6 separate regions of the Homo sapiens genome follow, and all the other regions are linked to region 1. Evidence: promoter capture Hi-C in 16 types of primary human blood cells and fetal thymus (Javierre and others, 2016). All regions are on one chromosome and are shown on one strand. The core of a region is centred on a gene start or on the middle of the fragment in contact, and the rest is flanking DNA. Distances in the headings are between cores, read along the strand shown.

Region 1 (4,999 bases), core at 1,666-4,165:
AAGATACACCGACACTCGGGCTCGACATGCCCCCCTGGCTACGGAAGGCCTGTTTAAGGAGATATCAGGAAATCCAGTTTACGTGTCAGGGTGGAGCTAAATCTGTTCATGCAACAAGCACCAAGACGGCCCTAGTCTCTGCCTAGGAAATGTGCAGTGTAGACTGAGAAATACAGTCCATGTCAGCTCCCATCCTGGGAGTGCACTGAGACAGGTGGTGGGAATGGGAGGAGGAAAGGAGGGAGATGCCAGGAAGCTGGGATCAGGAGCCGTTTGCCAAAGCAAGGCCTGTGAGGTGTTGATTCGGGAACAAGTGAAAGTGTTTGTGAAGGTTTTGAGCTGGGAAAAGTTGGAATCAGATTTTGTACTTGCTGTTATCCCCAAGGGTAAACAATAAGCAAACGAAAAAATCAGGGCGAAGCTAAAGCTCTAGTTAGGGCATCTCTCTGCCTTGAAAATGACCTCAAGAAATCTAGGAACCTCTGTGGAATGCAACTTGAAGATGGAAAGGTGCCTTTGTCTGAAGGTCCCTCCCCTTTTATGCCTGCTGCCGGTGTGAGGGTTGGGGATTGGGCCCTGGGACTCAGTCACTCAGTCTTCTTGGAGAGATAAACTTTTAGCTGAAGTGATTGATTTTCCCCTATTTTAATATACTATTTTAACTAATATGAGTTACTTATGATTTTTAACAGTCTGTTTTAAATATCTTTCTTGTATATTCCTCACATTATATCTTTTTACTATCTGCTTTATACTGTGTTATTTCTGTTAGTTTTCTTATCTATTTGGTTTTTCAAGCGGAAACTGTCAATCTTTCTAATTATAAAATTGTCGTGGGTGGCTGGGTGCAGTGACTAACACCTGTAATCCCAGCACTTTTGGAGGCCGAGGTGGGCGGATCAGTTGAAGTCAGGAGTTCGAGACCAGCCTGGCCAAAATGGCCAAACCCCGTCTCTACTAAAAATACCAAAAAAAAAAAAAAAAAGAGAGAGAAAAAGAAAAGTTAGCCGGGCGTGGTGGTGCATGCCCTATAATCCCAACTACTCAGGAGGCTGAGGCATCAGAATTGCTTGAATCCAGGAGGCAGAGGTTACAGTGAGCCGAGATTGCACCACAGCATTCCAGCCTGGGCGAAACAGTGAGACTCTGCCTCAAAAAAAAAAGAAAAGAAAAAATAAAATTATCCTCTCTCTATATATTAATATATGTCTTAGTCCATTCAGGCTGCTATAACAGAATACCATTGAGTGGGTGGCTTGTAAACAACAAACATTTATTTCTCATGGTTCTGGAGGCTGGAAAGTCCAAGATTAAAGCACCAGCAGATTCAGTGTCTGGTAAGGAAGGGCTGCTTCTTGGTTCGTAGATACCTGTATTCTTACTGCATCTTCACATGGAAGAGCTCTCTGGGACCCCCAATGTAATGGCACTAATTTTATTCATGAGGGCTTGCCTTCATGACCTAATCACCTCCCAAAGGCCACATTTCCAAATACCATCACATTGGGGATTTGGTTTCAACATGGGAATTTTAGGGGAATATAAACTGTCTATAGCATATGTATATATATGTATGATGGTTAATTTTAATGTGTCAACTTGATTGGGTCACCAGGTGTTTAGTCAGACATTATTCTGGGTGTGTGTGTGTGATGGTGTTTCTGGATGAGATTAACCTTTGAGTTAGTAGACTGAGTAAAACTGGTTGCCCTCCCTCATGTGAGTGGGCCTCATCCAATCGATTGAAGGTCTGAATAGAACAAAAGCTTGAATAAGAGGGAATTCTTCCTGCCTAACTGCCTTCAAGTGGGAATATGGGTTTTTTTCCTGCCTTCCAACTCAAATGGAAACATTGGCTCTCCAGGGTCTTGAGCCTGCTGGCCTTTGGACTAGAACCACACCATTGGCTCTCCTGGATCTTCCGCTTACTAACTGCAGATCTTGGGACTTTTTGGTCTTCATAATTACATGAGTCAATTCCTTATGATAAATCTGTTTCCATATATGTATACATTCTATTGGTTCTGTTTCTCTGGACAACTCTGACTATTACACTGTGTGTGTGTGTGTGTGTGTGTGCGTGCGTGCATGTGAGAGAGAGAGAGGAGAGAGAGATTATACTGTTATGCTGGTCTGTGGGCTCAGCATCAAAGTAGGAATTTTGCAACACACCCACAGTTAACACTCACTTTTTTCCTCAACACCTAGACTCTTTCAACTTCTTAACAGAGTCAGAATTTTGGAAGAAAAGAACATTAACACTAAATTGTCATTTTATAAATTATTAAACTAAAGCTTAGAGAAATAGTCAATCATAGTCCATAAGGAATGTATTGGCTGGATAGTCCCATTTCTATGCCATACCATGGCAAGTAAAAAAAAAAAATAATAATGTTTGCTTAAGGCTTATATGGGAAGTGTGTCCTGTGCTTTGATTAGAAAAGTGCCCCCAAAATGTTTTTTAACCTTGTATGGTTCATGAGCACCTCTGAGAATCTATTGAAACCTGTGAGTTCTCTTCCCGGAAGTGATTCTATAAGGACACAGACATAATTTTGCATATAATTTTAGAAACTCATTCACTTAAAAAAAAAAAAAAGGAATCTTCTTCCTGGTCTTGCCGTGACAGTCCCCAGCCCTCTCCACATGACCAGCCATCTGAGACCCATGGTAGAGCCACAAGTCTAAAACCCCTCACAGCACAGAAAGTAACTCAGAGCACGGCATGTGACCTCTCCTGGTGACACTTGAGTAGTAAGAAGTGGCAACTCAGCCACAGCAGGTCTATATTTGGACCTTCACTCATGGCAGGCCTGTTGCTATTTGTGGCTGCAGCCAGCTCATGTTACCATCCAGCTTTGGTGCCCCACTTGCAGAACTCTGGTGTAAAATAGGCAGGGGTAGCCTGTGGGGCATGCAGAGGTCACTAGGAAGGAAAGCCTGCTGAACACAGATTCAATTTTCTAGCAGAACTCCAGGTCCTCTGAGTTAAAGGAAGCATTTATGGACGCTTAGCAGGCAAGTTTTGGGGTAGTCATATTCTTCCAATGCAAATTGTATTATTAGAAACTCAATGCTGCAATATTAATGCAATATCTTTCCTGTAGGTGGGAAGAGATATCATGGTAAATTGCAGATGTTTAAATTACAATAAATAGTGTAAATGTTTTCTGTGCCTTCTTAAAGCAAGAATTCGCATTAACTGAACATGATGTTGGGACAGGATGTGAGAGGCTCTGATGAAGGCAGACAGGGGCTGGTGATTCTTATAATGTGTCTTTAGGATATCTGTAGTGCTGGGACCCATTAGTTAGAACCATTTGGTAGAACAGTTTGGAAATATAGATGTTGAATATCATCTGGCTATACTATTGTGTTGTAAATACATTTTATTTAATCTGTGTGTACATGCTGAAAAATAATAACTTCATGCATTGATTCAAATACTAAAAAACAGCATCGTAATTATTTTTCACTTGTTATGCATACAGCCTCCTCCTATAGAAAGTTTTCAGGTTCGGGCAGTGTCTGCAAAGCTGATTTGAATCATTTCATATCACTGTAACACTTTAAGGCAAGCTTTCTTTCACTGCTGTGGCTCAGGAATTGCCAAGGGCTGCATGGAAGAGCTAAAATTATAGGCAAAGTTATGTTCCTGCCCTTATGGAATCACTTCTGGGAAGAGAATTCACAGGTTTCAGTAGATTCAGTAGATATGCCCATGATCCATAAAAGGTTAATAAACAAGCCAAGTGAGGTGGCAGATTGCATGAGCCCAGGAGTTCAAGACCAGTCTGGGCAACATAGCAAGAACCTGTCTCTAAAAAAAAAAAAAAAAAAAAATTATTGGGGGACTTTTCTAAGTAATGCACAGGGATACACCTCCCATATAAGCCTTAGACAAACATCTTTTTTATTTTTTTTAACTGCTTCCCTTGGCATAGAGGAAAGGGTATCCAGCAAAGACATTCATAATGGACTATGACTAATTGCTTTACTTCTCTAAGCTTTAGTTTCACCATTTATAAAATGACAGTTTATTGTCAACTTTCCTTTCTCCCCAAATCCTGATTTTGTTAAGAAAGAGTCTAGGTGTTGAGGGGAAAAGTGACTGTTAACTGTAGGGTGTGTTGCAAAATTCCTACTTTGACACTGAGCCAGTTTGTGTTGAGACCACTTTGTGTTGTGTGTTCGAAGGGCAAGTGCCAGCTTGAAAGCATGTGTTCTTATCTGTATTTGCACTAAGTGTTTTCCAGTCTTCTGACAGTTCAACTTGGTGTTTCACATTCCAGCTTCTGGTTGAAATAATTTCTCATGATGATTTATTGGTCATACAGAATCCTGGCTATTTCCCTTTGGGTAGCACATGGGAATGTAAGCATTATTTTAGTGAACTGCTCCTCTGTCTGTAGATGGTGTGATTTAATGGAAACCTGGGTTTGAATCCAAGCTCTTCACCTGACTGGTTGTGTGTCAGGTGAAAAGCTTGGATTCAAGCACAGGGCTAAATACAGAGTAGCCCAGATACATTTTTGTAAAAGAAAATTGGCTATAAGCAAGTCCTTTATCCTCACAAGATCTCAGTTTTGCCATCCTAAAATCAGGAATTTTTTTTAAACATCCATGACCTGCTGAATAAAATCAGGAAATTGAATTAGATGCTCTCCAAGGGACCTCCATCCCTAGAATACCATATCTCTGCCTGGGCCCCCTGGGAGAGGAATGATCTCATAGCTGATGTCTGTGCGTGGTTATGAGGCTGTTCTGCTTGGTGCCTTCTTTCATCATCGGCTGTTTTCAAGGGACAAATATTCCCACAGTAGCCATGGATGATTCCACACTGCTGTGGTCACTCTCCATGAGTGACTAGGTAGAAGGCTTCTAGCCCAGGTGGGAGATACTAAGGTAGGAATCATGATAATGATAGTAAGAACAACAACAATAACAGCAGCTAACACTTACTGAGGACTTACTTTAAGCTATGTACTATGCATAAAGT
Region 2 (4,999 bases), core at 787-3,286, 180 kb before region 1:
CAAAAATCTCATTTCACCATATTAATAAATGGGCTAACTGCCAGAACTTGGGAGTGAAGATGCTTAAATATTTTAAAATTTTTATTTGAATGAAATCATTGTAATAATCATTAAAGTGATTTGAAATAGAATGATCTCTGTGAAAGGAAGTTTATAGCATCACTATTTATAGGAGAGAAAGCAGCAGAGGTATGCATCTGGAAGTGAATATAACATTGTAAAATCAGCCCACATTAAATACCAAAAAAGTAAGAACCATCAAAATGCAGCATTATTTACAGGATTAAAAAGTGTGAACAGTACAGAGTTAAACTTTCTTATGTGTGAATTTTGACCTGCTATGTTGTTAGCAAAAAGCTTTAGTGTTTGTATAAAATGATGTGTACCCTTATCCCAACCACCACCAGATCAAGACACAAACTGACAATGATTCCTTCCTTATTTTACAGCTTTATTACTGATTTCCCTCTAAAAAGAGACTCAAGTGTGGAGCTGACTCATCTATAGATTAAGGAATCACAAAGTACCATAGTCACTTAACAAATGCAAAAAAAAAAAAAAGCAATTGTTTTACCTTTCAACTGCTGATGTTATGTACAATCTATCACAAAAAGCATAGCTGTGCATTCATGAGCTGATTATATCAACCTCTAGAATTTTAGAAACGAGCACATCTAAGCATATGGATACTCTCTTACCTTACAAAGTAAAAGCATTTTCTATTTTAAAATTTTTATTTCTGTGTAAAACAAAGAATTCCTAGAGGTCAAATAATATACCAAACTTAAAGCACTATTAAGTCATGAAACAAAGAAGATTCTGAGGTAGAAGTCAAGCAATATAATCCACAGTTTCAGGTATTCCCAGCAACCATCGCATTTCGCAAGTAAGATCTATTTTTTTTAAAGTCTCAACTTCCAAAAAATCAATAATCCATTCTGTAAAATCAGATGTAAAACTATGACCAACAGAAGACACCCAAACTTTTCTCATGGTAACAGAGTAAATGCTTTTACTAAAAGCTGCCAACATTTCTATCAGTAGTAACCGTAAGGAGGCCGCTGGTTGTAACCATAATGTCCATATTGCTGGGGATAGTAAGGTTCTTGTCTGTGTTGCGGGTAGTTGTTACCCCAGGATCGTCCATGCCACTGATTGGATCGATTGTCACTTGGCCACCCCCATCTGTTGTCCCTGCCTCTGAACTGTCTGTTGTCTTGCAACCTACAACAATAAAACAAAAAAGATCTTTAAACTTCCCTTGTTAAAAAAAACATATGACAAACCCATAGCAGTGCTTCTGGTTTCTCATTCTAATACACAATAAATAAGACTAAAAAACATTTTTCACAATAGAATGTTATAGTGCCAGTTATTCAAAACTTTCCTAAGATTGAAATCATTCTTCCAGTATTATACTAGGTACACTTTACAGAGACATAGGCAGACTATATAACCAATAGAATAGTTCCAAATTAAAGTGAAATCTATTCAATTGTACAAAAATGGTATGGTAATTTATTCCTTTGACTATTTTGAATTATTAAGTAAAAGTAACTTCCATTTGTAAACTTCTTCCTAAAGTAAAATCGAAACAATGTTTTCTTTATGGAATTGAACAAGCTGTAGAAAACTCTAGGTTTTTAAAGTAGATTTGCATTGAAAATATTAGTCTACAGAAAAAACATCTAAAAACAAAAAAACACACGCACTTGAACAGCAAGGAAAAAATACATGGTGCTGAAAAAATATTAAAGCAAATATTTATCAGAAATGATGTACCAGGTACTGTTATTAGGTACTAGGTATGCCATACCAAAAACACTGGTCCCTGCCCTCACTGGCCTTCCAGTCTAGCAGATTAAAGCTATCCTCTGCCAGATCAACTATCTGCATTTATTCTTTTGAATACACACCGATTGCCTCTGTTTCTTTGGTTCCCACCAGCTCTGCTATTCCATTCCTCAACAATTGGAGGAGACTCAGGAGGGCGTTTCAGGTATTCCTGATACTCCTTGTCATTTTCTGTGAATCTACTAGCAAACATCTCTTCAAACTTTGGAACAGCTTCGGCAGTGTCAGTCATTCTGAAAATCTGTACAATTTTAAAGACATTTCCATTAAAAAAAATTTAAAAATTAACACTCTCTCCAAATAATGAAAAACCAAGAAGTAAGCAATTTTTAGGCGGGGTATTCATGGAAGTCTTTGTGTGCTTTCAGACATGTCATATTTTAGATATTGAATTCAACATTTTTTTTTTTTTTTTGAGACAGGGTCTCTCACTTTGTCACCCAGGCTGGAGCACAGCGGCACAACCTCGGGTCACTGCAGCCTTGACTTCCCTGGCTCAAACAATCCTCCCACCTCAGCCTCCCAAGTTGCTGGAACTACAGGTGCATGCCACCCACACCCGGCTAATTTTCGTATTTTTTGAAGAGACGGGATCTCGCCATGTTGCCTAGGCTGGAAGTCTTGGGCTTCGGTGATCCTCCTGCCTTGGCTTCCCAAAGTGCTGGGATTACAGGCATGAGCCACTGTGCCTGGCCCGAATTATTTTTCTTACTTTATTAACTTCCAATAAAAGGTTTGGGACAAAAAGATGTGACAATGGAAGCTATTGTGATAACTTCTTCATTAGTCTGCCTTTCCTCCAAACATATGCAAATATTTGTAACATTTATACTACCTACTTTAACCCCAACAAAATTAAACGGAAATTATTGTTGCATTGCAAGAAACAATATGTAGATTTTTTCTTTTTCCTTTTCCCCCAGACGGAGTCTTGCTCTGTCACCCAGAGTTGGAGTGCAATGGCGCGATCTCAGCACACTGCAACCTCTGCCTCCCAGGTTCAAGCAATTCTCCTGCCTCAGCCTCCCAAGTAGCTGGGATTACAGGCACGCGCCACCACACCCAGCTAATTTTTGCATTTTTAGTAGAGATGGGGTTTTGTTGGCCAGGCGGGTCTTGAACTCCTGACCTCATAATCCGCCCGCTTTGGCCTCCCAAAGTCCTGGGATTACAGGTATGAGCCACTGCGCCCAGCCTTTTTTTTTTTTTTTTTTTGAGACGGAGTTTCACTCTTGTTGCCCAGGCTAGAGTGCAATGGCGCGATCTCGGCTCACTGCAATCTCTGCCTCTCGAATTCAAGTGATTCTCCTGTCTCTGCCTCCCGAATAGCTGGGATTACAGGTGCACGCCCGCTCGCTAATTTTTGTATTTTTAGTAGAGACAGGGTTTCATCATGTTGGCCAGGCTGATCTTGAACTCCTGACCTCAGGTGATCTGCCTGCCTCAGCCTCCCAAAGTACTGGGATAACAGGCATAAGCCACCGCGCCCAGCCTGACACTCTTATCTTTCAGGCTATTGCTCTTAGTATGCTTTATCAAATACCAAATATCAGACTTTCAATGTGTCTGGGATTGGCAAACTATATCAAATTCTCAAATCCAAGGAATGAGTTTTAAATAAATTCAGCTAATTAAAAATCATGTCTAGAATTCTAGTGGGATCACAGAAATCACTAAAAAGATGACCCATACCTAATCCAGATGGGCAGTAAAAATCATAAGGCAAGGAAAAGGTGCTACTCCATTTTTATGTTCTCATATGTTCTCCCACGACTCCCCACCCATACTCATGTAAACAAATATCAACTGTATTATTACTGAGAACGAAATTTAAATAGAATGTTAATCGACCCAAGCTTTACTTACCCCAAAGGTTTGAGGCAGCTGTACTGCTTAATGTTTAGGTTGTTTAAATCTGTGGGAGGAAAAAAACAAACTTGACTTTATTTAAGGAAACTCTCAAAAGGTGTTTGTAGGGGAGGGTGGCGCATAAGAGTCTTATTCAAGGAAAGAATTGGAGTAAAAGTGCTCTAAGGCCAGGCGCGGTGGCTCACCTCTGTAATCCCAACACTTTGGGAGGCCGAGGCGGGCAGATCACGAAGTCAAGAGATCGAGACCAGCCTGGCTAACACGGTGAAACCTCGTCTCTCCTAAAAATAGAAAAAATTAGCCAGGCGTGGTGGCATGTGCCTGTAGTCCCAGCTACTCGGGAGGCTGAGGCAGGAGAATCGCTTGAACTTGGGAGGCGGAGATCGCGCCACTGCACTCCAGCCTGGGCGACAGAGCGAGACTCCGTCTCAAAAAAAAAACAAAAAACAAACCAAAAAAACGCTCTAAAGACTTCCAAAGCTAATATTCCAAAGAGGGAACTGGTTCTCAAGAGCAAGAAGCTACAAGATTTGTCCTCTGGGCCTTCAAAAGCAAAATAGTTCAAGTATGAATACAAACTTCATAAAGTATGTATGTTCTTTTAGGGTAAGCCTTTCAGATTTGTACTTGAATACTGCTAATTTATTCACCACAAATAAAACCACAAAGAACTTTGGCTGCGGGCGACTAACCCTGGAAATAACCAACCAGAATGGGGTTTCGCTGCCCTGGGAGGTGAGCCCGGGGAACAGACGAAGATGCAGACTGAAAACAACTGCGTTTTCCAGTCCGTCCTCAAGGCACATCACAGCTTGCTTACCAAGGTTCTGGCAGATTTGCTCCCTTCCGAAGCACCTTATACCTCCAGAAGTGAGGGAAATTATGGGCCGTGAGAAGTAAACGGGCTTCGGTCTAGCAAAGAGTACAGATCACCGCACAGGGGGAGGACACCTCGCTGGCCACCCAGCTCGGCCGCCCCGCTCCCTCCTCCCGGGCGTCCGGGGCGACTCACCCGCCAAGGGCTATGTCAATCCAGCTCAGGCCGAACCCCGCCGGCGAGACACTGAGAAGCCCAGGAGAGGTGGCCTCTGGTCCACTACACCGTGGAACTCCAGACCACTCCAGTTCTCCAATGTAACCGAGCGCCTTCCTCTAAAATCCGACAACCACCTGACTTCCGCTTCCGGCGGGCTAAAGTTGAGGGTGCCTGTCAAGTCTCGCGATAACTAAGGCTCTCCGTGTGGATCGCTTTGCAACAGATCGCTTCTTCAAATGC
Region 3 (4,999 bases), core at 1,599-4,098, 180 kb after region 1:
CACTTGAACCCGGGAGGCAGAGGTTACAGAGAGCGGAGATTGAGCCATTGCGCTCCAGCGTGGGCGACAAGAGCAAAACTCTGTCTCAAATAAAATAACTTGTATTAGGTGAGTTTCCTCAAAAGCCATTCTTTCTAACAATAGGTAGATAGGTAGAACTAGTTTTATCTTGAGGGTATTTGTGTCTATATCATTAGCATTAAACAATTGTTTTTAAATTAATTTTTTAATTAAAGAATTGTTTTTGTTTTACAGCATTGCCAAGTAATTCTTCCTGTTGACTCCTGATTTTCGGTAGTATTAAGGTTTGCACTCTATTAAGTCTCTGATTTATCTTAAAGCCTTCTTTCCCGTTGACAGTAGAAGACCAACTAAAGGTCAAAAAAAAGCTACAAGTGACCTCACTTTATGGCAAAATATGCTGAAAATAAGGGCAGGAACTGTCAGGCAATAGTAGAATAACCAAGAGAAAAACATTTTTTATCATGGTAAAACATTGGTCTGAATGCAGATCTATACATTGATGAAAGTTCAGATGGACTACACAAAGTAAATGGGTCTGTGAGTATGGGGTGGATAGTAGGTTTCTGTTTTGAAAATGAGGAACTATGAATTCATATAACTGGACGGTTTAAAAGGATCAGTATTGGCTAGATGTGGTAGCTCATGCCTGTAATCCCAGCACTTTGAGAGGCTGAGGCAGGAGCAGCGCTTGAGCCCGGGAATTCAAGACCAGCCTGGACAACATAGCGAGACCTTTTCTCTGAGGGGAAAAAAAAAAGTTAAAAAAAAAAATTAGCTGGGCATGGTGGCGCCTGTCTGTAGTCCAGCTACTTGGGACGCTGAGGCAGGAAGATTGCTTGAGCCCAGGAGATCAAGGCTGCAGTGAGCTGTGATTGCAGCACTGTGCTCCAACCTAGGGGACAGAACAAGACCCCATCTCTTAAAAAATGTGTGTGTGTGTGTGTGAATATACACAGTACACATGTCGAGCAGCCCTAATCTGAAATGCTCCAAAATCTGAAACTTTTGGAACACCAGTATGTCACAAGTAGAAATTAGACACCTGAATTCATGATGGGTGACAGTTAAAACACAGTCAAAATTTAATTTCATGTACAGAATTACTAAAAATATTGTATAAAATTAACTTCAGGCTATGTGTATGAAGTATATATAAAAAATAAATGAATTTGGCTGGGCGCAGTGGCTCACGCCTGTAATCCCAGCACTTTGGGAGGCCAAGGTGGGCGGATCATGAGGTCAGGAGATCAAGACCATCCTGACTAATGTGGTGAAACCCCATCTCTACTAAAAATACAAAAAAATGAGCCGGGCGTGGTGGCGGGCGTATGTAGTCCCAGCTACTCCAGAGGCTGAGGCGAGAGAATCCTGTGAACCCGGGAGGCGGAGCTTGCAGTGAGCCGAGATCACACCATTGCACTCCAGCCTGGGCGACAGAACGAGACTCCGTCTCAAAAAAAAAAAAAAAAAGAGAAAAAAATAAATGAATTCTGTGTTTAGACTTGGGCCCTATCCCTAAGATAGGTCATTATGTATATGCAAATGTTCCAGCTTCCAAAAAAAAAAAAATCCAAATCTGAAACACTTCTTGGTCATCTCAGCATTTCTGATGAGAGATACTGAACCTGTAGTGGATTCAGCCCTTAGGTCTATTTGAATCATATCTCTTGCCTTTTAATTAAGCATTTTAAGTCAAATGATTAAGAGGAAGAGTTAGGGGGTACCAGGAATAGAAGGGCCTGGAGTCTTCAGAGAAATAGTTGCCATAGGTCTTTGGTTCACTTAATGAGCCAATAGATCCTTCCTCAAGGATCCCTGTGGTGGCCTCTGAATAATAATAATGATACGACTGATAGACAGTATTCGTTGGTTCAGCACATAATTACATGTCAGGCCCTATGCTAAGTACTTTATGTGCATTAATTCACAAAAAGCCTTATGAGATAGTATTACTTTTATCCCTATTGTACACAAAGGAGAGTAGTAGATCTGTTCGCCATCTGACAGTCCTGGCTTTGATTTTTTTTTTTTCCTTCCAAATTGGTTAAGGCAAACATTGGTAATTATAAGATGAAACAGTTTGGAATATACATTGAACACCTCATTCACTTTTATTATAATGTCATCTTAAGCTAGAGCTCTGGCTTGATGTATGTGAGAGAAGGGGAGGGAGGCATGTCAGATATCATTTGCCTTGATTTGGGAAGGTGTGTATGTTCCTAACAGGATTAGGAGTGGGGCAGGGTGACCAGACACATTCCTAAATTAGATTTTTTTTTCAGACTCCTTGAAATAGTAAGATTTCCTTCCTCTCCTAAGGAATACCTTTCTCCCAGACTCCCAAGTCTGCATCTGTTCCCTAGACTACTGTGGTACTTTCTCACTAATCCTTCTGCCACTTATCTGTCATGTAGTTGCTGGTGGTCTCCTTCTAAGACTCACTTTGTTATTTACTTGCCTTTAGATGTGGCCAGGATCTGGAATCCATGTAGTCCATATATATATAGTACTTTTATTACAGTAATTAAAAGCTAGGTTAATTTTTGTGTATTGAAAAGACACAATTTTGTGTATTGAAAGACAATGCTGACTCCTTAATTTGGCATATGAGGCTTTTCCAATTTTCTCTCCTATACCTAATGCTGTACCACACTGGACCACTTTTGATAATGCCTCTCTACTCTCTTGTGTTCTTTAGAACTTCCTCTTTACCCCCATTTCCAGGCACATTCTGTCCCTCCAGGCCACCTTGGCTTGGAGGACAATGTACATTTACAGCACGTTGTAGTCTGTGTTGTGGATGTTTACAGGATCGGGTCTTAGTTCTTTTTCTTTCTTTTTTTTTTTGAGACAGGGTCTTGCTCTGTCACCCATGCTGGAGTGTGGTGGCACAATCTCTGCTCACTGCAACCTCTGCCTCCTGGGTTCAAGCATTCCTCCTACCTCAGCTTCCTGAGTAGCTGGGACTACAGGCATGTACCACCATACCTGTCTAATGTTTTGTATTTTTTGTAGAAACAGGGTTTCGCCATGTTGCCCAGGCTGGTTTTGAGCTCCTGCCTGCCAAAAGTTCTTTTCCAGACTTCAAAACTTTATTTTGGTTTAGTCTGTGTCTAATCTGCTGCCCCTTGGGGTGCTCACTATAGAGAGCAGGCAGTCGGCTAATGTTTATTAGGCAGTGAAGAATGAAGCATGTAGCCTTAAGATAATGCAGATTGTGCTAGGCAATGGCACGTGCCTGTAGTCTCAGCTACTCAGGAGGCCAAGGTGGGAGGAGCACTTGAGCCCAGGAGTTTCAAGTTCAGCCTGGGCAACACAGCGAGACCTCCTCTCTGCAGGTTATAAATCTTTGCATCTTAGCCTTCATGAAGTTGCCTTCCTGAAATTGAGAATCAGCTTAGAAATCTACAGTTGTGAAAAGGGCCTTGTGTGTCACTGGATTTAACAGTTCTCAATGGCACCACTCTAGAGAGCTTGGGAAAACAACCTTGTAGGATTGTGTATTTTGGTCGTCTTCACAGTTTGCAGAGGGTACCAATCTTCAAGAACTTGAGGCTGACGTGAGGCTCAAGTTTGTCCCTTTAAGGTCATCCTGCAGAGTTGGTAAAACTGTAAATGCTCTTGGTCATTCTCATGCTCACTTGGATTTTAGTAGGCCAAACAAAATGACATTGGGCCTCTTCTTGTTTTGTTTTGATGTGACCAGCTTATGAGATATTAAGTGCCAGTTTCATTACTTGGTCTGTTTTTGTTTTCCGCAAGATAATTGAGGATAATAGAACTGATGAGGCAGGCTCCCCTTAAAAAACTCAATCTGTCAACCAATATTTCATTGCTTCTTATGTTGGGCATTGGCTGTGGAGAGTGAGGGAGACCGGAGTGAAGAATGGTACCTACATTTCTGCTTTGGGCATCTGGTGGATGGTGGTGTTATTTACCGAGATAGGGAATACCAAAAGAATAGTTTTTGTGTAAGGGTTCATGATTTTTTATATATATATATAGGAGTTCTTTTTTCATTCGGTAATGTCTTACCCATCTTCTCATGCCAGTTAATAAAGTTGTATGTACTAATAATGACCACATAGAGTTGTATAACTTAATCAGTTTGGGTGGTTTTACCACTGTTGGTACTTACCTCTCTTGTATTCAATAATTAGTGTTTGCAGATACAAATTAGCAGCTACTGTATGCCATGCAAAATGCTTTACATATGTCATCAAAAAGTTGGTATCCTTTTTCCATTTCACAAATGGGGAAACTGAGGGATAGAGGTTAAGTAACTGTGATATCACACAGCCAATAAATGGCAGAATGAAAATTTTTAAACAGCTGTATTGACATAAAATCTACATACCCTAAAGTTCACCTTTAATGTACAGTTCATTGGTTTTTAGTCCAGTTGACTCTTGGACAGTGTGGGAGTTAGGAGGACCAACCCCCACAGTCAAATATCTATGTATAACTTTGACTCCCCCAAAACTTGACTAATAGCCTGCTGTTGACCGGAAGCCTTACCGATAACATAAACAGTTGATCACATGTTTTGTATGTTACATGTATTTTATACCGTATTCTTACGATAAAGTAGGCTAGAGAAAAAATGTTACTAGAAAATCATAAGAGAAAATATATTTACTGTTCATTAAGTGGAAGTGAATCATAAAGATCTTCATATTTACTGTTTTCACATTGAGCAGGCCGAGGAAGAGGAAGGATTGATTGGTCTTGCTCTCTCAGGGGTGGCAAAGGTGGAAGGATGTGGAGCGGATGTAAGGAGAAGCAGGCACAGTCAGTGTAACTTTACAGAAATAATTTCTGTCTGACTTTTTGCTTTTTCATTTCTGTAAAAATGTTTCTATGTGGTACCAATCCTAATTCCACCATTTGCGTTAGTTTCAGTGCCTGTGTAATAGAAGGGTCTGTATTGTAAAAGAAGTCAAAAGCAGCCTTGAATAATCGGAACCCTTTTGCC
Region 4 (4,999 bases), core at 1,778-4,277, 160 kb after region 1:
AATAAATTCACCTCTGTCACTTTCCACACCCTGCCCTGTGGATTATGGTCACCTTCAGAGGGACTGTTCTTCCTGTATGACCTGCAGGCCTAGCCAAGTCCAGGTAGGGAACAAGGACTTGCCCACACCTGAGGTCATGACTGCATTTGGTCAAAGTTACCTCTTCTCTCAACATCTGCAGTCAGCTCTGGGGTCATTCACAGATAAGCACACACATAAGCATGCTGGAAGTTTTATTCTCACCTGGTTAAGACTTCAGGCTCTGAAACCAGAAGACTGCCTTGGTTTGAGTCTTTGCTCTCACACTTTTAGCTGGGAGTCTTTTGGCAAGTTACTTAACTTCTTTGAGCTTCAGTCTCATCTGCAAAATGAGATAACATAGGTAAAGCACTCAAAACTTTCCCACGCGCACAGTAAGTGGTCAGTGAAGACGAGCTATTATTATTACCTGCAACAGAAAGTTTAGGGAGAGAGATTTTAGGCAGCAGAAGTTTCTGTTCCAAGTCTCTTGAAAGATGCCTTCATTTTCTTATGGTTGACAGTTTTGAAATATGACAGGGCCTCCAGACACCCGCTCCCTTGGGCACTATTCTGGGTTTCAGGTTCTTATCTTGCTCAGCTTTTGGGTCAGAGAGGAGGAAACGATGTCAGGGATCACAAACTGGCAGCCGGTGAGCTGCATGGGGCCCCTGGACATGCTGGGCTTGGCTCTTTTCATTTGAATTAATAACCAACATTAAAATTCACATTCAAGATTTCACTTAAAAAAGTACTTCCAGCTTTTCTTGAAAGATGACTGGGCTGGGACCTCGTTTCTACATGGTGCCCACCAGCTAACAGCCCTTTTGGGTGTGCCTTGGGCCTTCAGTGCTGTCGCCCACCCTCACTTGGCTCCTGTGCTGTAGGCATCTGGGTGTGCCACCCTATCAGAAGCAGCCATCCTACGCTGCTTGTGGGCCAGGACAAGACTCAAGTAGGCTACTCCTGGAGAAAGCATGGCTCAAGAGGTAGGGGTCCCAGCGAAGTTGCTCCTGCCTTGTCCCTGTAGTCATCACCCTTTCTGCCCATGACCTCAGCAACCCAAAGAAGCTCCTGTAAGTAGACCAAGTGGATGGAGACTGGCCAACTCCCACTGTCACTCACCCCCTCGTGGACTTCTACTCTTATGCTCACCACCCTTCCCCCCTTAATCCTTCTGAAACACTAGACTATAATATCAGCTTCCTCTTTCTCCATCACCTCAGGCAGAAACTGACAGTTACCTGTCCCTCTCCCCTTAGCCATTAGATCAAGCCCAGGAAGACGGCAGCACCATCCTTCCTAAGTGCCAGGAGAGGACCGGAGCATAGTTAGTGCTTATTAAATAGTATCATGATAACATGACACATGTAAAACACTTAGCAATGTTCAATAAACTCTGGTCCCTTTCCTCCCCACTCCAGTCCCTTGTTTTCCCCCTTTTCTGTCCAACCTCTTCTATGTCTCCAGCAACACCTTAAAACAGACCCGACAACTGCCAACCCCTTTTACAATTCTCTAATAGTTTTCCTGCTGTCTGCAGAATAAAGGCCCCTTACAAACCGGGCCCAGGCTTCCCTCCGGCGGTATCAGGTCGCATCATCCTCAGTCCTGGTCAGAGGGAGCCGCTCGGTGCCGTCCTCCCTCTCTGCCTTTGCTTGATCTTCCGCCTGGAATGCCATCTCCGACTCTGCGTTTGCCTGGGGTTTCCGGTCCGCCCCTGCGCCAGGTGCCCTAGGACGCCTGCCCTGGAGCCCTCGCCCTATCCCTTGCCCTATTTCTGTGAAACTTTCTATCTCAGTGTGTCAGGAGCGCCGGAAGCGGTTTCTCCGGAGAACTCCGGTCCAAAGAGGACCAGTGATGTCTTTGGAACTTTCTGGAACTTCCTGACTCTCGCGGCCCCCTCTGCAGCGCACGGAGCAGAGGGTCTAAAGTGAGTGCGCCTCCTGGAGCCCAGGGGCTACAGTTCCGACCAAGGATGCCAGGGCAGGCTCTCGCCCTGGAGAGATCACTGGAAGAGAAGGAGCGCGGACACGAGGCTCTACTGACGAAGCGATCGCCGCCGCTCGCAGGGGCTTGTAAATCGTGCCCTCTTTCGTTAAGAGGGAAACTGAGGCCCAGGGCAGACAGTGACTCGGCAAGGGTCACTTAGGTGATGGCGCGCTCAGGCTTAGGTCTCTGGCCCCCCAGGGGGCAGCTGTGGCTAGCAGCGGCGGCAGTCCCCGCCGGGTTCCGGGTGGGCGGCGGAGCCCTCCTCGGCTCGGCCTGCTAGGAGGGGCGGGGCGCGAGGGGGCGGAGGCGAGGGCCCGGGCGGGGCCGACACAGGTGCTCCGCATCCGGCCGGGGGGCGGCTCCGAGGAGCGGCTCGTAGGAGCTTCATAAGCTGCCGGGGTGCGGGGCTGCGCGCGGCCCGCTGCAAAAATAGTGCCCACGTGCGTGCGCGTCTCTCGCCCGCCGGCTGGCCGGTCAGCCCGTCAGCCCCGCAGGGCCACACCGGCCCCATGGCGTTCCCGCTGGTAAGAGCCACCCGCCGCTCGCCTGGGCGGGGCCGCGTCCCGGCCGCAGTAGCTAACGGTCCGCGCGCAGCCGGGTCCGGCGCCGCGGTACCCCCATCCCCCGCCCCGTGCGGGCGAGTCCCGGGCGGGGCGCGGTCACGTGCCCGCGGGCGTGGGGCCTCGTGGAGGGGTGGAGGGCGAGGGGGGCAGGGAGCCTCCTCGTGACTCAGGGCCTTTGGGCTTAAAGGCGCCGCAGCCCTGCGGGGGCGGCCGGTGGGGCCTCCGAGCCGCACTGCGGCCTCCAGGCGGCCTCGAGCGTCTGTCCAGACGGGAGCTGACCGGACATAAAGGAGCACCGGCGCCCGGAACGTTTCTTTCTCACACTGCCGTCGCACGGGAGACCCGAAGCCGCTGGCGCTGGAAGCTCACGCCCCCTGCGGGTCTCTTTAGCACCCGGCGCGCGGTGGGGGCGCCCGGGCGGGACGGGGCGGGGCTGCTGACGGCGTAGACCCCGTGCTCTGTGGAGAGCCCCACGACGGCGGCGGTCGCGGCACCTTTAAGGTGGAGGGCTCAAGCCCCTCGTGCGGCTTCCCAATCCTGGGCAGGTCACGTGGCTTCACACCTTCGCTTGGCGCCGGAGAGGGAGTCTCGGGGGCGGGGCTGGCCAGGTAGTGTGGCGCGAGGGCGGAAGACTGGCGGGGCTTCGTGCCCGGGAGACCCGCCGGGCTGGCGGCATTGAGGTGGGTCCTGGTCATGGGCGGGAGAGGGTTAGGCTTGCAGGCCGCGGAGGTGGCGTAGGCGGGGAGCGACCCGAGCCCACTCTGGGCTGTGCTGTTCGGACCCTCAGCCTGGCGAGTGGGTGCATGTGGCCTGGCGTTCTGGTCATTCTCCTCAGTGCCGGACGAGGCCAGGTGCCCAGACTCAGGGGCGGCCTCAGGTTTGGCGGAGCAGCGGCTGGGGCCCTGGACGAGTCGCCCCCCGTGATGACGAGCGGTTGGGCGGGCCTGTGCCCGCCTGGAGTCACCTGAGTGTGGGGGGACTCACCCACAAAGGGGTCCTCACCTTGGGGTGTCCCACCCGGCGTCATTCCCCGAGGCTTTTTCATGTCATGGGTTCCTCAGCGGTCGAGTCGACCGAGGCTTTGCTGCCTCATTCCTAGAGGACCCAGGGAGACCAGAAGGCTCTGTGAGCGGCCCCGCGTTGACCCCGTGACCGAGAAAAGCCAGGCAGACGCCTGGGCTCTTGGGCGCTTTCGTGGGCGCGCGCTTATTTTTCGGGGGCACTTTGCTCCCTGCAGCCCTGGCCCCTTGCACCGTGCTCTCAGCTGGGGGAAGAGAGTCGGGAGCCGAATTCGCTCTTAGAAGCCGGGGTGCCTCCCGCCAGGCCCGCCTGGGAGGAGGCCGCGTCTCTCCTCCCCCGCCCCGCGCCTGCAGCCCCGGCCCTGACTGACGCCGCATTTCTCTGGCAACCGCTTCCCTTGGTCTCCCTGGCTACCGCCCAGCCTCCCCGCGCTCTCTCCTGGCACCTGAGTCAACTACTGGGCTGTGTCGTTGGTGGGGAAGAGGGGCAAGTGGGTGGGGTTCCTATTCTGGAAGGCACAGGTGCACCGCCCGCCTCTTGGCTGCCCCTCAGGTGACGGTGCGGTCCCTTGCTAGCGGGAAGAGTGTCTGCTAAGGACAGTTTGCACCCTGAGGCTCATGTTCCCTTTGAGTCTAGGGACACATGCTGGGTTAAAAAATAAAAATAAATTCAAACAGGACCCAACCTTGGAAACCTCAAGTTGGTGATTGTTTTCCTGGTTGGTTTTTTGCATAGTTAGAAAAGCTTGTGGAGCTCAATGGGGCTGCTGGCTGTCGGAAAACCCTGGGGACGGTGTTTTGGGGACTCATCACTGGTCTTTTATTTGTCCCCATTGAGCTGGCTTGGAGCTGAACTGTATTCCCAGAGCACGTTGCTGTAGGAGTTTGGCTTTTTATTTTTTAATATTTATTTATTTATTTATTTATTTTGAGAGGGAGTCTTGCCCTGTCACCCAGGCTGGAATGCAGTCTCGCGATCTTGGCTCACTGCAGCCTCCGCCTCCCGGGTTCAAGCGATTCTCCTGCCTCAGCCTCCTGTGTAGCTAGGATTACAAGCTCGTGCCACCACGCGCGGCTGATTTTTGTATTTTTAGTAGAGATGGGGTTTCAGCATGTTAGCCAGGATGGTCTCGAACTCCTGACCTCGTGATCCGCCCACCTCGGCCTCCCAAAGGGCTGGAATTACAGGCGTGAGCCCCCTTGCCTGGCTGAGTTTCGCTTTTTAAATTTTTTGTCACGGCGATTTAAACTTTGGGTGGCCTGGTAGTGCCTGCTCAGTTTATAGAAGTAGGATTTGGAAGTTGACTACTCTGTGTGTAAGTCAACCTTTGTAATAAAAAAGTACGGCCCGGCCCCATGACTCACGCCTTTAATCCCAGCACTTTGGGAGGCCCAGGCGGGCAGATC
Region 5 (4,999 bases), core at 1,572-4,071, 140 kb before region 1:
TCCGGTAATTTTAACTCTCTTTCTGGCCCTCCCTCCCCCTGGCCAACACAAAACCAATCCACCGTACTTGTGTGATCAAAAACAAGTACTGAAACTCTGTGGTTGAGATCAAATAGTTCTGTGGAAATGAAAATGTTTACTCACTCATAAAACCTTAAAGAAAATGTCAAAAAATAATTTTTGTTTGTGGAGAAGCAGGGAGGAGACGCTTGGGGATTTTGTTTAAACACAGAATATGTCTTTCATGTAATTTTAACATCATTCGATAAATGTATATATTACTCACTTCTCGTAGATAAAGGCTGGTTTGTAACTCCTACCTACCTCTGCCATTTTTAATAGATCCATGTCTTCTATTATTTATGTGAAAATACAAGCCATGGTCGTAAATTGAGATGCAGCTAAGGGCTGGGGAAGCAATTCAGACAGGAGGGTGGAGGGAGCCGTTTTAACTGAAAATAGAACCAATGTCATCCTTTCTGAGAGTTGTGTAGGATGGAGGGGGAAGAACTTTTTGAAAGGGCAGCTAGTAGAAAACCTTGCTGCGATCCTACAGCTTCGTCATGGCTCTGCTGTGTAGACAGGACTAGGATTTAAGGGAAAAAAAAACAAACTATCTGAGTTTACCTCCCCCCAACTTGAGATGCTTCTCCTCCCTCAAATGTTCACTACCATTTTCCACTTCTCTTCTGCGAAGTGTTCTGTGTTAAGTGTGGCCTCTCCAGTGAGTTTGTGTTCTTACTCCCTAAGGCAACTATTTCATACCTATTCCCCTTTCCAGACCTCTCCCCTTCCTAGGCACACCCCGTGGCTTCCCTTTCAATTGACAAGATAGGCACCTTTGACCAAGGGAATGTCTTCATTTTGCCACCACCTAGTCTAGTATGCAGCTGCTGCTACCTTCTCCTACCTGCCTGCTGTGCTGGATGACCTGTCCCTCATCTCTTCCTACTAGGGGCCCCTTCTTCTGGGGTAGCCTCCATTCCATCCCTTCCTCCTCCCATCTTTTCAGAGATTGTCTCTCCTTCCTAACCACCTTTCTCTCCGGGGTCTTCTCCATCAGTATAGGAGCATACATCTGACCAACAGAACTTTCTGCACTGCTGGAAATGTTCTGTATCTGCGTGGCAGCCACCAGCACATGTGGTTATTGGACACTTGAAATGTGGTTGTTGAGACTGAGGACCTGAATTTTTAACTTAATCTAAATTTAAATAGCCACATGTAGCTAGTGGCCACCATATTGGATAGCATAGCTTTAGTTGCTCTCATCTTAAAAAGGAGATCTCCCTCCCTCCTACATCCCTCTCCTGTTTCACTTCTTTGCTCTTCTTCACCTGAAAACACCTCAGAAGATACATCCAAACCCACTGGCTCCATTCACTTTCTCCTGCCATTTGTTCACTCTCCATACTCTACAGTCTTGCTTCTGCCTCACCTCTGCACCAAAACTGCCAGGGTCTTGGGTGACCAGGGGGTTGCCAGATCTCAGCCTCACCTCACTTCACCTCTCTCAGCAGCATTCCTAACAAATGACCACTCCCTCTCCTCAAAACAACACCCCTCTCAGCTCCTCTGGCCCCACTGTTTCCTGCTTTTCTTCTTACTCCTAATCATGGGGTTGCCCAGGGACTGGTCCTGGTTCCTTTTCTCTGTCCACACTGTCTTCCTAGGTAATACTGTCCCACCTGCAACTCCTCCCCACCCTCCCATGGCTTCAAATGCCATCGATATGCCCATGATGCCCACACTTTAATTTCTAGCTCAGATCTTTCTTGGAGCTTCTGACTCTCGTCAATACATGGAGCTCTTGATATGCCTTCCAGCTCTCACCTGCCTTCCGTCTTCCCCATCCAAGTCAGTGGCCCTACCATGCACTCATTTGCCAAGAGTCATGTTTGAGTCCTCTTCCCAACCTCTCACATGCAGGCTATCAGTTTGTCCTGTGCATTCTACTTCCGGGATATATCTGGAGTGCATTCACCTCACCCCATAGCCATAGTTCCCACTCTAGCCACCATCACCTCTTTCCTAACAGGCCCCCCAGTATCCACTCTGGGTTGTCTGCAGTCCATTTTTCACACAGAAGCCTAAGTGACCAGCTTTTAAAATCATAAATCAGATCATGTCATTCCCCTTTTTAAATACCTCCCACTGACCAGGCGCTGGGCGCAGCTCCCCCTGCCATGCTGCTGTGCCCCTCACTGTGTTCTGCTAACATAGATCTCCTTTCCTTTTCTTGCCTTACCTGAGATCCTTGCACTTGCTGTTTCCCCTGCCTGGAATTCTCTTACCTTCCTCTTTCCTTTCAGACTTTGGCCTCAGGGTCACCCCTTCAGGGTCTTTCCTGCCATCCTGTCTAGAGCACCCACCTCCAGAACTATCTAACCCAGCCCCTTTTCTTTTTTCTTTTGTTGAGACAGAGTCTCCCTCTGTCACCCAGGCAGGAGTGCAGTGGCACGGTCTCTGCTCACTGCAACCTCTGCCTCCCAGGTTCAAGCGATTCTCATGCCTCAGCTTCCTGAGTAGCTGGTATTATAGGCATGTGCCATCACACCCAGCTAATTCTTTTTTTTTTTTTTTTTTTTGAGATGGAGTCTCTGTCTGTCGCCCAGGCTGGAGTGCAGTGGCGCGATCTTGGCTCACTGCAAGCTCCGCCTCCCGGGTTCACGCCATTCTCCTGCCTCAGCCTCCCGAATAGCTGGGACTACAGGCGCCCGCCACCACGCCCAGCTAATTTTTTGTATTTTTAGTAGAGACGGGGTTTCATCGTGTTAGCCAGGATGATCTCAATCTCCTGACCTCATGATTCGCCTGCCCCGGCCTCCCAAAGTGCTGGGATTACAGGCATCAGCCACCATGCCCGGCCACACCCAGCTAATTCTTTTGTATTTTTAGTAGAGATGGGGTTTTACCATGTTGGCCTGGCTGGTCTTGAACCCTTGGCCTCAAATGATCTGCCCACCTCAGCCTCCCAAAGTGCTGGGCCCCAGCCCTACCTTTGTTTCCTATAATTGCTCACCACAGCATGCCAGTAAGCATGCAGGTGTTATTTACTTATTTATAATCCGTCTTCCCCCAGTAGCATCCCAAAAGGATAGGACCTTATCTTTTTCACCAGTGTATTCCAACACCTAGCACAGTGCCTGGCACCAAATAGGCCTCCAGTAAATAATTTTTAATTGAGTTAATGCTTGAATGTTGTGGGCAGCCTTGCTTGGATGCTGGCCTGGAAGCTGTGATAATTTTTGGGTTAACTTTTATATAGCTTGCTTAATTGGGAGTTGCAAGGGCCAAGAGAGAAAGAGATCACATTTGGATGCAGCTTTCTTTTAACATTAAAGCAAGCCATTTAGCTTTCATTGTGATGTGGGTTAATTTTCGGGCCGTCTGCTGTCATTTGAGTACTGGAGTTGTAAATTACCTTTTTACTCTCCTGCAAAAGACTAACAGAAAAGCCAGCTTGTCTACTGTTGTGACTTTTAGCTGATTTTGTCAGTGTTTACAAATAAGATCTACTGTATTACTGTTTGGCTTCATTTTACACTCACTTATTTTGTTCAGCCAAGATTACCTTGCCATGTACAGGTGCCACAATCTTGGTTATCTAACACCTCAGGCTGCCTTTTGGTACTCTATACCGATTTACTTTCTTTTGATGTTCATTCATTCCTTCTTTAATTTTCCATTCCCTCTGAATCACACCAGACTCTGTAGTTCCAACAAATTATAGGGCTGTTCTTTGGGGTTTGAGTTGACTGCAATAGATACAGTCTTTCAGATATGTTGAGGTGAGTTTGTCTTCTCTTGGTCCTGTGGGTTTGTTAAACTTCACTTTCTAATATTCCTTCAGTCTGTACATTGGTAAGGCAGTTGGCAAGTGCTGTAGGGATCCAGAGATGAGCAGACCCACTAGTTAGTTCCTGCCCTTGGGGAGCTTATATTTTGAAAAGGGAGATAAACTACATACACAAGTACCAGCTTTATATGTGAAATGCTGTGAGAGTAAACACAATGTTATAGTCCTTTGGGTATCACAGGTGGTGGTGGAGGGGTGCCCATCTATTTGGGGAATTGAGGAAAGATGCCGTGGTACATTGTGGGGAGGACAGATGCTGTGGTACACTGATGGTTACACAGCCATCCCTCTTAGTATCCGAACTGGAAGAATACACAGAATTTGGAATGGAGTAGGCACTAAATAAGTAGATATTGAATGAGTGTGTAAATAGGTGTGAATGAATATTCTCTTTTGGTTGACTTTCTTTGTTTTTGTTTTTTTAATAAAATACACAGTTTATTACATAGCAATAGGATAAGGAAGGGGACTAGAGGATGTTGCAGTAGGATAGAGATTTTAGATGGGGATCCAGTTAGAAGACTTCACTGAGAAGGAGGCATTAAAGAGCTGAAAGAAGGAGGAGAGTGAGCCATGGAGGTGTCTGAGGGAAGTGTTCCTGGCAGTGTGAATAGTGCGAACAGCAGGTGTAAAGGCCCTGAGGCAGGGGCATGCCTGGCTTGTTCAAGAAATAGTAAGGAAGCTAGTATGGCTGGAGCAGAGTGAGCCAGAGAGAGCACGAAGGTGAAGAGGTCAGGGAGGTAGCAATGGCCAGACCAGTCTTTGGGTTGACTTTTACTTTGGGAAGATGCCATCATTCTCGTTGGAAACTGCCCTGAAGTTTCTGGTCCAAGTGTTGTTAGGAAAGAATAAAGGCATGTTTGCTGCTCGCACAGTTCGCTGGAAATATCAGGGCCAAGTAATTCTGCTGAAGCGGGACGCTGAGCAGAGCACATGGTTTATTTTTGTCGAATAGACTCAGTGATTTGTGTAAATTATTAGGTTTCTTTTCTGGAATGGCTCCTGAGGAACTTAGAGTTAAATGTGTGGTGACCCTTAGCAGATTTATCAGACTTCATCCATTACCTTTATTTCTAGCTCAGTGTGATGGCCCTACCCTTGTTTTGTCTTTACCCTTTATCATCTACCACTTTTTTTTTT
Region 6 (4,999 bases), core at 787-3,286, 130 kb after region 1:
AATTGCTTTTAAAAACGTAAACTTTTTTTAATATGCTAAAGGTAATACATGCTTATCATAGAACATTTGGAAAACTCAGAAAATTATAAGTTTAAACTATTAATAAGTCCACCATTTAGAAGACCACCATTAATTATATATTTCCTTATTTTTTATTCCTATATATAGTCATTCAGAAGTTGTACTTTTGTCTATTGTCCAATATTTTAAACTTTTCTGCTTCTTTTCAATGCTTTCATATTTAATACTTTTTTTTCCCCATTCACATTTCAATTAAACTTTTCACTTAGAATTTTCTCCAGGCTGGGTTCAGTGGCTCACACCTGTAATCCCAGCACTTTGGGAGCCCAAGGTGGGTGGGTCATTTGAGGTCATGAATTCAAGACCAGCCTGACCAACATGGCAAAACCCTGTCTCTACTAAAAGTACAAAAAAATTAGCTGGGTGTGGTGGTGCGCTGAAATCTCAGCTACTTGGGAGGCTGTGGCAGGAGAATTGCTTGAACCCAGGAGGTGGAGGTTACAGTGAGCTGAGATGGTACCACCACACTCCAGCCTGGGCCACAGAGCAAGATCCATCTCAAAAATAAATAAAAATTAAAAAGAATTTCCTCCAAATTTTTTTCTACTTTCACATTTTTAAATCAATTGTATTAGTTTTCTGCTACATAATAAATTACTATAAATTTGGTGGCTTCAAACAACACACGTTTATTTTCTCAGTGTCTATGGGTCGAGAATTCAGGTATGGCTTAGTTGGATCTTATGCAAGGCTACAACTGAGGTGTCAGCCAAGGCTGAGTTTTTATCTGGAGGCTGTACTGGGGAAAGGTCCACTTCCAAGTCACATGGTGCCACGATCCACTTCCTTGCAGTTGTAGGATTGTGGCCCTGGCTTCTTGCTGGCTGTCAGCTGGGGGCTGCCCTTGCCTTCTAGAGGCCGTCCTTAGCTCATTGCCATAGGGGCCTCCCAACACGGATGCTTAATTTCTCCAAAGCCACAAGGGAGAAAGTCTCTAGAGCCAGTCTGCTAGCAAGACCGTCTTCTTTTTATTTTTTAATTTTTATGGGTACATAGTAGGTGTATATATTTATGGGGTATGTGAGATATTTTGATACAGGCATATAATGCATAACAATCACATCAGGGAATGGGGTATCCATCCTCTCAAGCATTTATCTTTTGTGTTACAAACAATCAAATTACACTCTCTTAGTTATTTATAAATGTATAATAAATTATTGTTGACTGTAGTCACCCTGTTGTGCTGTCAAATACTAGATCTTACACATTCTATCTAACTATAATTTTGTACCCATTAACTATCCCCACTTCCCCCACCCACTACCCTTCTCAGCCTCTGGTAACCATTATTCTACTCTCCAACTCCATGAGCTCAATTCTTTTAATTTTTAGCCCTCACAAATAAGTGAGAACATGTGAAGTTTGTTTTTCTGTGCTTGGCTTATTTCACTTAAAATAATGACCTCTAGTTCTATCCATGTTGTTGCAAATGACAGGATCTCATTCTTTTTTATTCTTTTTTTATAGTACTGCATTGTGCATATGTACCGTATTTTCTTTATCTATTTGTCTGTTGATAGACACTTAAGTTGCTTTCAAATCTTGGCTATGGTGAACAGTGCTGCAATAAACGTAGGTGTGCAGATATAACTTCAATATGTTGATTTCCTTACTTTTGGGTATATACATAGCATTGGGATTGCTGGATCATATGGTAGCACTATTTTTAGTTTTTGTTTGTTTGTTTGAGATGGAGTCTTGCACTGTCACCCAGGCTGGAGTGCAATGGCATGATCTCAGCTCACTGCAACCTCCGCCTCCCAGGTTCAAACGATTCTCCTGCCTCAGCCTCCTGAGTAGCTGGGATTACAGGCGCCCGCCACCAAGTCTGGCTAATTTTCATATTTTTAGTAGAGATGGGGTTTCACCATGTTGGCCAGGCTGGTCTTGAACTCCTGGCCGCAAGTGATCTGCCCGACTCGGCCTCCCAAAGTGCTGGGATTACAGGCGTGAGCCACTGCACCTGGCCTATTTGTAGTGTTTTTTTTTGAGATGGTGTTTCACTCTTTTTTCCCAGGCTGGAGTGCAATGGCGTGATCTTGCCTCACTGCAACCTCTGCCTCCTGGGTGCAAGTGATTCTTCTTCTGCCTCAGCCTCCCAAGTAGCTGAGATTACAGGTGCCTGCCACCACGCCTAGCTAATTTTTTGTATTTTTAGTAGAGACAGGGTTTCACCATGTTGGCCAGGATGGTCTTGATCTCTTGACCTCGCGATCCACCCACCTCGGCCTCCCAAAGTGCTGGGATTACAGGTGTGAGCCACCGTGCCCGGCCTATGTTTAGTTTTTTAAGGAACCTCCAAACTGTTCTCCAGACATTTCCACTAACAGTGTACAAGGGTTGCCTTTTCTCCATGTTCTTGTCAGCATTTGTTATTGCCTATCTTTTGGATATAAGCCTACTTGGGGTGAGATGATATATCTTTTTTTGTTTTGTTTTGTTTTTTGAGACGGAGTCTTGCTCTGTCACCCAGGCTGGAGTGTGCAGTGGTGCGATCTTGGCTCACTGCAACCTCTGCCTCTGTGGTTCAAGTGATTCTCCTGCCTCAGCCTCCTGAGTAGCTGGGACTACAGGCGTGCGTCACCACGCCCCGTTAATTTCTGTACTTTTAGTAAAGATGGGGTTTCGCTGTGTTGGTCAGGCTGGTCTCAACTCCTGATCTCAGGTGATCCGCCTGCCTCAGCCTCCCAAAGTACTGGGATTACAGGCATGAGCCACCCGTGCCTGGCCTTTCATTGTAGTTTTGATTTGCATTTCTCTGATGCTCAATGATGTTGATCACCTTTTCATATACGTGTTTGCTATCTGTATGTCTTCTTTTGAGAAATGTCTATTCAGCTCTTTTGCCCATTTTTAAATTGGATTATTGAATTTTTTTTTCCTATTGAGTTATTTGATCTCCTTACGTATTCTGGTTATTAATCCCTTGTCAGATGGGTAGTTTGCAAATTTTTTCCTCCTATTCTGTGGCTTGTCTCTTTGTTGATTCCTTTGCTGTGCAGAACCTTTGTAACTTGATGTGATCCCATTTGTCTACTTTTGCTTTGGTTGCCCGTGCTTGTGGGGTATCACTCAAGAAATCTTTGCCCAGTACAATGTCCTGGAGAATTTCTCTAATGTTTTCTTTTATTAGTTTCATAGTTTGAAGTGTTAGATTTAAGTTTTTAATCCACTATGATTTGATTTTTGCATATGGTGAGAGATAGGGGTCTGGTTTTATTGTTCTGCATGTGGATATCCCGTTTTCCCAGCGCCATTTATTGAAGAGACTCTCCTTTCCCTAATGTATGTTCTTGATACCTTTGTCAAAAATGAATTCACGGCCAGGCGTGGTGGCTCATGCCTGTAATCCCAGCATCTTGGGAGGCCGAGGCTGGTGGATCACCTGAAGTCAGGAGTTCAAGAGCAGCCTGGCCAGCATGGCGAAACCCTGTCTCTACTAAAAATACAAAAATTAGCTGAGCGTGGTGGCGGGTGCCTGTAATCCCAGCTACTTGGGAGGCTGAGGCAGGAGAATTGCTTGAACCCGGGAGGCGGAGGTTGCAGTGAGCCAAGATCGCGCCACTGCACTCCAGCCTAGGGGACAAGAGCGAGACTTCATCTTCGTCCCCCCCCGCCAAAAAAAAAAAAGCCACTGATTTTTTTTTTTTTTTTTTTTTTTGGAGACGGAGTTTTGCTCTTGTTGCCCAGGCTGGAGTGCAATGGGTTTTTTTTTTTTTTTTTTTTTGAGATGGAGTTCTCACTCTGTTGCCCAGGCTCTGGACTGCAGTGACGCGATCTCCACTCACCACAACCTCTGCCTCCCGGGTTCAAGCAATTCTCCTGCCTCAGCCTCCCGAGTAGCTGGGATTACAGGCATGCACCACCATGCCCAGCTAATTTTGTATTTTTAGTAGAGACAGGGTTTCTCCATGTTGGTCAGACTGGTCTCGAACTCCTGACCTCAGGTATTCTGCCTGCCTCGGCCTCCCAAAGTGCTTGCTAGGATTACAGGTGTGAGCCACTGTGCCTGGACAATGCTACTGATTTTTTTTTTTTTTGAAACGGAGTCTTGCTCTGTCACCAGGCTGGAGTGCAGTGGCGCCATCTTGGCTCACTGCAACCTTCACCTCCCGGGTTCAAGCGGTTCTCCTGCCTCAGCCTCCTGAGTAGCTCGGACTACAGGTGTGCATCACCACATCCAGCTAATTTTTGTATTTTTAGTAGAGACAGGATTTCATCATGTTGGCCACGATGGTCTCAATCTCTTGATCTCACGATCTGCCTGCCTCGGCCTCCCAAAGTGCTGGGATTACAGGCATCAGCCACCGCACCTGGCCAATGCTACTGATTTTTATGTGGATTTTGTATCCTGCGACTTTACTGAATTTATTAGTTCTAATAGTTTTTTGGTGGAATCCTTAAGATTTTTTAAATATAAGATCATATCATCTGCAAACAAGGATAATTTGAATTCTTTTCCAATTTGGATACCCTTTATTTCTTTCTCCTGTCTGATTGCTCTAGATAGAACTTCCAATACAGAGTCTTCTTAATAAAACATAATCATAGGATCATATATAGTCATATACCACCTTTGCCATATCCTGTTGGTTAGAAGCAAGTCTCAGGTTTTGCCCATACCCAAGGTGAGGGATTGCACAAAGGCATGAACACCAGGAGGCAGCTACTGGTGGGGAAGACCTTAGAATCTGTCTGCCACATCCATCTAGAGCTTAAACTTACTCATGTGTAATGTGTGAATTGAGGATATATTTCAATTTTTTTTAACAGCCAGTTTTCTAAGCATGATTAGCAGGCATCTGCAAGGTAGCATGTATGTTGGCATAGGTTATGGAAAGGAAGTCAGTGTTTCCTGCTTAAAATTCCTCTCTGACAACTGGAGCCTGTTGGTGAGGGGGAGCCTTGTTCTGTT

The links. The method cuts DNA at HindIII sites, captures the fragments that hold promoters and counts their contacts. A CHiCAGO score of 5 or more calls a contact.
Region 2: a contact is called between a fragment that was not itself captured here and the fragment with the promoter of FSD2 in region 1, in 15 of 17 cell types (total B cells, naive B cells, naive CD8 T cells and 12 more). The highest score is 28.1, in total B cells.
Region 3: a contact is called between a fragment that was not itself captured here and the fragment with the promoter of FSD2 in region 1, in 3 of 17 cell types (naive CD8 T cells, activated CD4 T cells and total CD4 T cells). The highest score is 8.7, in naive CD8 T cells.
Region 4: a contact is called between the fragment with the promoter of CPEB1 here and the fragment with the promoter of FSD2 in region 1, in 4 of 17 cell types (naive CD8 T cells, total CD8 T cells, activated CD4 T cells and 1 more). The highest score is 9.3, in naive CD8 T cells.
Region 5: a contact is called between a fragment that was not itself captured here and the fragment with the promoter of FSD2 in region 1, in 4 of 17 cell types (naive B cells, total B cells, naive CD8 T cells and 1 more). The highest score is 9.7, in naive B cells.
Region 6: a fragment that was not itself captured here is called in contact with the fragment with the promoter of FSD2 in region 1 in 7 of 17 cell types (naive CD8 T cells, naive CD4 T cells, total CD8 T cells and 4 more); the score reaches 13.3 in naive CD8 T cells.

The regions. Positions count from the first base shown.
Region 1 is chr15:82,803,985-82,808,983 of GRCh38, reverse strand. It overlaps FSD2 (fibronectin type III and SPRY domain containing 2), which reads left to right and starts at 2,915. Exons shown (of 13, transcript NM_001007122.4): 1 at 2,915-3,018. RefSeq lists an enhancer at 2,532-2,631. The HindIII fragment of the contact is 1,284 bases long and covers 2,298-3,581 here.
Region 2 is chr15:82,986,106-82,991,104 of GRCh38, reverse strand. RAMAC (RNA guanine-7 methyltransferase activating subunit) reads right to left here and starts at 4,895. Exons shown (of 4, transcript NM_031452.4): 1 at 4,736-4,895; 2 at 3,721-3,769; 3 at 1,917-2,095; 4 at 48-1,224. The coding sequence starts at 2,086. The coding sequence ends at 1,038. It also overlaps a transcript of HOMER2 not described here and a transcript of C15orf40 not described here. The HindIII fragment of the contact is 3,353 bases long and covers 360-3,712 here.
Region 3 is chr15:82,628,478-82,633,476 of GRCh38, reverse strand. It overlaps CPEB1 (cytoplasmic polyadenylation element binding protein 1), which reads left to right. Exons shown (of 13, transcript NM_001365242.1): 2 at 4,921-4,999. Among named protein-coding and RNA genes, the nearest start is that of CPEB1, 16 kb to the left of the region's middle. The HindIII fragment of the contact is 7,050 bases long and covers 1-4,999 here.
Region 4 is chr15:82,645,391-82,650,389 of GRCh38, reverse strand. CPEB1 (cytoplasmic polyadenylation element binding protein 1) reads left to right here and starts at 3,027. Exons shown (of 13, transcript NM_001365242.1): 1 at 3,027-3,253. CPEB1-AS1 (CPEB1 antisense RNA 1) reads right to left here and starts at 2,620. Exons shown (of 4, transcript NR_046096.1): 1 at 1,582-2,620; 2 at 449-619; 3 at 244-361. RefSeq lists a silencer at 2,238-2,807. The HindIII fragment of the contact is 5,175 bases long and covers 1-4,339 here.
Region 5 is chr15:82,945,980-82,950,978 of GRCh38, reverse strand. All of the region lies in intron 1 of HOMER2 (homer scaffold protein 2), which reads left to right. Among named protein-coding and RNA genes, the nearest start is that of HOMER2, 4.2 kb to the left of the region's middle. The HindIII fragment of the contact is 7,495 bases long and covers 1-4,999 here.
Region 6 is chr15:82,668,816-82,673,814 of GRCh38, reverse strand. All of the region lies in intron 14 of AP3B2 (adaptor related protein complex 3 subunit beta 2), which reads left to right. All of the region lies in intron 3 of CPEB1-AS1 (CPEB1 antisense RNA 1), which reads right to left. Among named protein-coding and RNA genes, the nearest start is that of CPEB1-AS1, 24 kb to the right of the region's middle. The HindIII fragment of the contact is 8,602 bases long and covers 1-4,999 here.